Regions from separate parts of the Homo sapiens genome. Here region 2 is linked to region 1. The links are contacts of gene promoters, found by promoter capture Hi-C in human tissues and cell types (Jung and others, 2019). All regions are on one chromosome and are shown on one strand. Each heading gives the region's core, a stretch centred on a gene start or on the middle of the fragment in contact. The rest is flanking DNA. Distances are from core to core; before and after follow the strand shown. Region 1 holds the start of SMCO1 (single-pass membrane protein with coiled-coil domains 1). Region 2 overlaps PAK2 (p21 (RAC1) activated kinase 2).

Region 1 (2,729 bases), core at 230-2,729:
ACCTGAGCCTAGATTAATCTTCTAGAACCAACAGCTCACATCTGTCCAAACTCCTTACCAAGCTAGCTAGAAGCATCCCCTCTCTTATAAGCCTTATGTGCTGTCTCCCTGCTAGTATGTTCCTTGAGGACAAGGATTTCGCCTTACTTATCACTATATTACCAGTGCCTGGAATAGTGCTGCTCATCCATTCGTAGGTTTTATACATTCAATTAATATCTATGATGCTCAGTAAATATTGAATAAGTGAATAAAGTATTCAGTGAAAGAACAAATACGTGACATGGCTCTTACCAGTTTAAATGGTGTGGTTATTTTCTTTTTCTTATATGAATCTTTTGCTCAAAACATACCTACTCATTGTTTCCTGAACACATCATTTACTTTGCCACCTCTGTGATTTTGCTCACACAATTTCTCCAGTTCGTAACACCCTTAACACTCTTCTCTGATAATCAAAGACCTTGACCTTTAAGGCCAAGCCAAGTACCACCTTCAGGGTGAATATCTCCCCAAGGACCCAAGATTTCAGTGACTTAGTCTCTCACCTTCTATTATTTTTATGGTCTCTATCTACTTAGCACACATCCCATATACATTTTCTATTTAAGGATATATTCTTTCTTCCCAACTAGATTTTAAATCTCATGAAAACAGCAGTCCTATTTTATTTCCACATTTATATTCAATTCCTAATCTAATATATATATAATTATATAAAATTATATATATATTTTATATACGATATAAATTATATATTATATATAATTATATGTATAATTTTATATATAATTATATATATATATATATATATATATATATATATATATATATATCCTATCCTCTTGCCCGGGCTGGAGTGCAGTGGCATGATCATAGCTCACTGCAGCTTCGAACTCCTGGGCTCAAGCAGTCCTCCCACTTCAGCCTCTTGAGTAGCTGGGACTACAGGCATGCACCACCACTCCTGGCTAATTTTTGTATTTTTTGTGGAGACAGTCTCGCTCTGTGGCCCAGGCTGGTCTTGAATTCCTGGGCTCAAGCAATCCTCCCACCTTGGCTTCCCCAAGTGCTGGGATTACAGGAGTGAGCCACCATACCCAGCCATAACAAGTATTTAGTAGTTTCTAATGATAGTTAGATTTTTTGCTTTGATATCATCATCATAAAAGATCTGGGGCACTCTTCAAACCTAATTTAGGTTGTAATTGAATAATGAAGCAGTTAAAATATGACAGTAATATTTCCATCAAACTTAATCCTATACGTTACGTTAATGTATCTGTATATACATTTACCATAATGTACACAGTCATTAATTATACATGGTTGTTGCTGTATGTTAATGTACTATGGTTCAGTTTTCAAAGGCAAATGTTATAGTGCATTCCAGGACACCTGTGTCCACGAGATAAGTTCTTTGAAACTATATTTGGATCTGCAGGCTATTAAAAGCTTCTTGTACTGAGTGACCTTTCAGGCAGAATGTAGACTGAGCGCTCCTGCTACTGCTGCCTGTTGCTGAGAGGAAGACCGCAGAAAATTCTGGATTCAAACATTTATTGCTTTTTTTGTTTTGCTTTGTTTTTGTTTTCTTTCCTTTTGCCTTCAGAAGATGAACAATGAAACCACAACCCTGATATCCTTGAAGGAGGCAATGAAAAGGTTGCTGAGGGCTATAGGGAGGGAGCAAGCATGGGTCTGCTATTCTGGGAAGATGGGTAAGAGAAGAATGAAGAATAGAAATAAAGAACTGCAGACATGCTCATTAGAATTCTGTCTCTGTGGCCGGTGCGGTGGCTCACACCTGTAATCCCAGCACACTGGGAGGCCGAGGTGGGCGGATCACAGGGTCAAGAGATTGAGACCAGCCTGGCGAACATGGTGAAACCCTGCCTCTACTAAAAATACAAAAATTACCCAGGCATGGTGGCGGGCGCCTGTAGTCCCAGCTACTTGGGAGGCTGAGGCAGGAGAATCACTTGAACCCGGGAGGTGGAGGTTGCAGTGAGCCGAGATCGTGCCACTGCACTCCAGCCTGGCAACAGAGCAAGACTCCGTCCAAAAAAAGAATTCCGTCTCTATTACAGTGGTTTAAGTCTTCCAGGCCCAAACCTATGTAAATTAACAATAAAGAAAAGTCTGCTCCCAGGTGCTGTAACTCCATTGAATGTATGCATATGCTAAATCCTAGATTTACAAAAATAAGTAAAATGTGGTTTCTGCCCTCAAGGAGCTCACAGCCTGTAGGAAAGAGAAAAGTTTGAAAAACATTTACAATTTAATGTGACTGACCTTACAATGGTGATGTTCCTAAAGGTCTATGCGAACATGAAGGGAGGATCAACCAATTTTGCCTTTGACACTAGAAAAAGGAACTCTTCATATAGGGTCATTTAAGCTGGATCTTAAAGTGCAAGTAGGAGCTTATGAGGGAGAAAAATATGGGAAGGCATTCTAGGCTGAGGAAACAGTGCATATAAGCCATATGTAAGCTTGGAACCACATAATGTATTCAAGCAGCAACTAGATGTCTCGTGTAATTGGTAACTAGGATGGGTGAGGGGACTGGTGGAAGACAGGAGCAAAGGGTGAAGGCCCTTGACTTTCCTGCTGAGGAGATCCAGTTTGCCTCTGAGTATATCACTGGGCAAGCCAGGATGACATAAACCATTTGTAATCAGTTGAGTCACAGAATCGGAATTGTGTTTTAGAAGAATGTGTCTGGA
Region 2 (5,733 bases), core at 1,356-3,855, 270 kb before region 1:
AAATACAAAAAAATTAGCTGGGCGTGGTGGCGTGCACCTCTAGTCCCAGCTACTCGGGAGGCTGAGGCAGGGGAATTGCTTGTACCCAGGAGGCGGAGGTTGCAGTGAGCTGAGACCACGCCATTGCATTCCAGCCTGGGCAACAAGATGAAACAAAAAAGAAAAAAGAAAAATTGTTTTCCATGAAACCATTACCCCAGTGTCAAAAAGGTTGGGGACCACTCCTCTAGGAAATAGGCAGAGAAGTATGGGTTACTATTATTAATCTCAGAATTCATTTTTTTAATCAGAAAGGTTGTTTACAGATCTAAGTCATAACCAACCAGAAGTGAAGGTGCTTATAGGTTGAATAGCTAGATGTGAAAATTGCTTTAGTTAATAAAGACAATACCATCCAACTCTAGCTGTATGAATAAAGCTTATTTTAAAAAGTCAAATGGCTCACTGACATTTTCATTATTTAAACTAGTAGACTAGTTAGGCCATTTCTCACTTGGGCTACAGCAAAAGCCTCCTAACTAGTTTCCAACTTCACTCTCACACTTCGAACAAAACCTTTTTTCTATATACCTACCATTCTCTCCTAACTAAAACAGAGAGATGGCCAGGTCTTTCCCCTGATTAAAAATCTGTAATGGTTCCCCAGGAAACAGGATAAAATGTGAGCTCTGTAGCATAGAATACAAGGCCCTTTATGACCTGGTCACTGCCTACCTCTTCAGCCTCTTCTGCTGTCTGTAGTGCCTACATACACCCTGCTGTAATTCTCTGTCCTTCCCTCTCTGCTTTCCAGTAACACCGGGCGGCACTCAGCTCCATGGATGTGCTCTGATCCCTCCTGTAGGTGGGCCACTGAAACAGGCTCTTCCCGGGCATGGAACACACTTTGTAACTATCGTTTCCCTTACCCATCCTGCAGTCTTCAGCTCTATTATGACCTCCTTAGGAAGCCTTCCCAGACACTGCAGATTGGACACATGTTGTGCACTGCCTCTGTACCACTTTTCATGGCTTGTAATTCTATACCATGGTTTGAGATTGCTGTCGTGGGAGCAGGGACACTATCTGCTTTATCACTCATCTCTGATTATTCACATAGTACACACATTAGCAAGCATGGAAAAAAGATCTGTTCTGTCAAGTTGCCTTAAAACGGCACGATCCAAAAGGATAATTTTCGAGTTTTTTGGTGATACCAATTAAAACCAGTAATTAATAAGTGAAAACATCCTAGAGTCTTTATTTTCTTTTTATAAAAATATTAGCTGTTTTTTTAGTAAGGAAAGCAGTAAGGGATGTAAATTTTTTAGTGGAATAAAATGAATTATCTCTAGATCAGGCCTTACATTAGAGATGGCAAAAGTCTTAAGGTCATTATGATTTTTAAAAAATGGAAATACAATTGTTTGCCTTTTAGACTCTTCTGTTTCAAGATGATGTACTGAGCACATACTGAAGTTCTCTCCCTTCTACACCAAAACCGAGTGTTTCACAGAATAAAATCCACGAGGAATGCTCCAGAATGAAAAGCAATTAGCATAAGACTAGCGAGAGAAGCAGCAGTTAGGATGTCAGTGGGAAAATGCTTCTGCAAACTGCTGCAGGTGGCTGAAACTAGAAGCAAGGTGGGTGGAAATGAGCGGACCCAGAGGCAACCACTAGGGTGATGAACGGGATAATCCAGTGAGAGCAACAGAGCAGGTTATTTCTATGTTTACAAAAGCACGGATGTGTAAACACACACAAGGTTCTCCCTCATTCCTAATGCCGAAAGCTGGGCCCCAGTGACTGGGCTGTGTTTCAGCTTCCAGGTAGGAGCAATAAGTGTAAGAGGAAAGGGAGGTAGAGCTCCAGGAAACAGGAGGAATCAAGAAGCATCCTACCCTCCAAACATTCCACACATCTCTGTCTCTCTGAGACTGAAAACGACATGCAACTAAACTTCCCTGTAAACAGGCTACACAAAGGCTCTGCAGATTCCCCACCCTCAGCTACAAAGGTGGATGCAATTCTCCCCTATTTGCCCTACAAAGTCTATACAATTCTTTTTTTTTTTTTTTTTCTGAGACGGAGTCTCGCTCTGTCGCCCAGGCTGGAGTGCAGTGGCGCAATCAAGGCTCACTGCAAGCTCTGCCTCCCGGGTCCACACCATTCTCCTGCCTCAGCCTCCAGAGTAGCTGGGACTACAGGCACCTGCCACCATGCCTGGCTAATTTTTGTATTTTTAGTAGAGATGGCGTTTCACCTTGTTAGCCAGGATGGTCTCGCTCTCCTGACCTCGTGATCTGCCGGCCTCGGCCTCCCAAAGTGCTGAGATTACAGGCATAAGCCACGGTGCCCGGCCCAAAGTCTATACAATTCTAATCAAAGTAGCCACAGGTTTTTTTTTCTGTTAAAGTACATGATAAACAGATTCTAAAATTTATAGAAAGATGCAAAAAGCCAAAGCAATTAACAGGATTCTGAAGAAGAATCTGGTTAAGAGATTTGTTCCATCAGGCATTAACAATCAATATAAGAGCCAGGTGTGGTGGCTCGCGCCTGTAATCCCAGCACTTTGGGAGGCCAAGGCTGGCAGATCGTTTGAGCTCAGGAGTTTGAGACCAGCCTGGGCAACATATGAGAGCCTGTCTCTACAAAAAATACAAAAATTAGTTGGGCATGGTGTTGTGCACCTGTAGTCCCAACTACTTGGAAGGCTGAGGCAGGAGGATCACTTGAATCTGGGAGGTGGAGGTTGCAATGATCCAAGACATATCACTGCACTCCAGCCTGGGTCACAGAGTGAGACCCTGCCTCAAAGAAAAAAAAAAAAAGATTGTAAGATATAGTAATCAAGACAGGGTGCTACTATTAGCTCAGGTACAGACAAATAACCTAATGGAATAAAGCAGAGAACACAGAAACAGACTCTCACATGGAAACCTGACAAATAATGGTGGTCTAGGTCAGTGGGGAAATAGAAGACTCAATAAATGGGTCTGGGATACTATCCAAGTTTAAAGAAAAAAGTGAAAGTGAATCTTTTCACAAATATACAAAAATAAAATCCAGCTAGCTCAAAGATTTAAAGTGTAAAAGGCAAGCTATAGAAAAAATACAGGAAAATGTCTTTATGACCTCAAGTAAGACAAAAATTTCTTAAAAAACAAAAAGCTCGAACCACAAAAAAGAGAAATTGAAGACAGGCACGGTGGCTCACGCCTGTAATCTCAGCACTTTGGGAGGCTGAGGCAGGTGGATCACAAGGTCAGAAGTTCAAGACCAGCCTGGCCAACATGATGAAACCCTGTCTCTACTAAAAATACAAAAATTAGCCGGGCGCGGTGGCAGGCGCCTGTAATCCCAGCTACTCGGGAGGCTGAGGCAGGAGAATTGATTGAACCCGGGGGGCGGAGGTTGCAGAGAGCTGAGATTGAGCCACTAGACTCCAGCCTGGGTGACAGAATGAGACTCCATCTCAAAAAAAAAAAAAAGAGAAATTGATCAAATCCACCATATCAAATTAATAACTTCTATTCATTAAAATATACTACTGAAAGGGTGAGAAGGCAAATCACATCCTGGAATACTATCTTTAACATCATATAACTGGCAAAGGATTAGTGTATAGACTACAAGGAATGTTTATTAATAGAAAACGAAAAAGCTAACCACCAAGTAGAAAAATGGATTAAAGACCTTGATATGGTTTGGCTGTGTCCCCACCCAAATCTCATCTTGAATTCTCATGTGTTGTGGGAGAGACCCAGTAGGAGGTAACTGAATCATGGGCAGGTCTTCACAAGATCTCCTGGTTTTAAAAGGGGGAGTTTCCCTGCACAAGCTCTCTCTCGTTGCCTGCTGTCATCCACGTAGGACGCGACTTGCTCCTCCTTGCCTTCCGCCATAATTGTGAGGCCTCCCCAGCCATGTGAAACTGTAAGTCCAATAAACCCTTTTTCTTGTATAAATTACCCAGTCTCAGGTATGTCTTTATCAGCAGTGTGAAAACAGACTAATATAGATAGTGAACAGATATTTCTTTCTCTTGAACAGATATTTCACAGAAAGCACACAAGAATGGTCAATTAACCCGAAAAGATGCTCAGTTTTTTGAGTAATCAGGGAAAGGCCAATTTAAAACACAATGAGCTAGTATTTCACCCCTCCCAGAGTTGCTGAGGGTGCTCAGCAATGGGAACGCTCATCTTCTGTGGGTGAGAATGTACACTAAAAACTTTTAGAAAACAATCTGACAAACCTAGTCAAGTCACACACGGGAACAGCCTGTAACCCAGCAATTCTAATCCTAAATATACATCTCTGAATGACCTTTAAATCTTTGGTCAGGACCCACACCAAGAAATACATTTTATATCCTGACTCAGTATACACATAACTAAAACAAACTGTTTCATAAGACAACGTTTTCACTGTGTGCACAACACTCTGATTATATTATTCTAGCGCATTTAGTGTCGTCCACTATACAGAGTTCATAACCCACCAATGCATTGGTTTTTAATATGAGCTGCACATCATTATCATCTGGGGTATTTAAAAAATTAAAAACAGTGCTCGCTTCAGCAGCACATATACTAAAATACGAACGATACAGAGAAGATTAGCATGGCCCCTGCGCAAGGATGACACGCAAATTCGTGAAGCGTTCCATATTTTTCACTGGCCATCAGAGAAATGCAAATCAAAACCACAATGAGATACCATCTCACACCAGTTAGAATGGCAATCATTAAAAAGTCAGGAAACAACAGGTGCTGGAGAGGATGTGGAGAAATAGGAACACTTTTACATTGTTGGTGGGACTGTAAACTAGTTCAACCATTGTGGAAGTCAGTGTGGCGATTCCTCAGGGATCTAGAACTAGCAATACCATTTGACCCAGCCATCCCATTACTGGGTATATACCCAAATGACTATAAATCATGCTGCTATAAAGACACATGCACACGTATGTTTATTGCGGCATTATTCACAATAGCAAAGACTTGGAACCAACCTAAATGTCCAACAATGATAGACTGGATTAAGAAAATGTGGCACATATACACCATGGAATACTATGCAGCCATAAAAAATGATGAGTTCATGTCCTTTGTAGGGACATGGATGAAATTGGAAATCATCATTCTCAGTAAACTATCGCAAGAACAAAAAACCAAACACTGCATATTCTCACTCATAGGTGGGAATTGAACAATGAGATCACATGGACACAGGAAGGGGAATATCACACTCTGGGGACTGTGGTGGGGTGGGGGGAGGGGGGAGGGATAGCATTGGGAGATATACCTAATGCTAGATGACGAGTTAGTGGGTGCAGCGCACCAGCATGGCACATGTATACATATGTAACTAACCTGCACAATGTGCACATGTACCCTAAAACTTAAAGTATAATTAAAAAAAAAAAAAAGAAAAAAAAAATTAAAAACAAAACCAAAAACAATGCCAGGGTAAGCCCCTAAAGATGCTGATTGCTGATTCAACTGGAATGAAATGGAGTTTGAACACAGATTTATTAAGCTTCCCAGGTGATTCTAATTAGCAATTCAAGAACTAAACTAACAGATCACCTGAAGTTTGAGAAGCTTTGCCCTACACCCAGTAAGATGTACATTCAACATTATCCATAGCAACACTATTCATGAAAACAACCCAAATGTCTACAGATAGGAGACTGGCCAAATAAACTGCAGTATATTTACAGTGTAGCAATACACAGCAGTG

What was found. The method cuts DNA at HindIII sites, captures the fragments that hold promoters and counts their contacts. A contact is called where the count stands out against the background at its distance.
Region 2: a contact is called between a fragment that was not itself captured here and the fragment with the promoter of SMCO1 in region 1, in 3 of the 25 tissues and cell types used here (H1 embryonic stem cells, IMR-90 fibroblasts and mesenchymal stem cells).

The regions. Positions count from the first base shown.
Region 1 is chr3:196,514,096-196,516,824 of GRCh38, reverse strand. It overlaps SMCO1 (single-pass membrane protein with coiled-coil domains 1), which reads left to right and starts at 1,479. Exons shown (of 3, transcript NM_001077657.3): 1 at 1,479-1,665. The coding sequence starts at 1,616. The HindIII fragment of the contact is 4,365 bases long and covers 1-2,729 here.
Region 2 is chr3:196,783,910-196,789,642 of GRCh38, reverse strand. The region is part of intron 2 of PAK2 (p21 (RAC1) activated kinase 2); the gene reads right to left. It also overlaps the pseudogene RNU6-42P. Among named protein-coding and RNA genes, the nearest start is that of PAK2, 47 kb to the right of the region's middle. RefSeq lists an enhancer at 2,037-2,743. The HindIII fragment of the contact is 5,914 bases long and covers 1-5,562 here.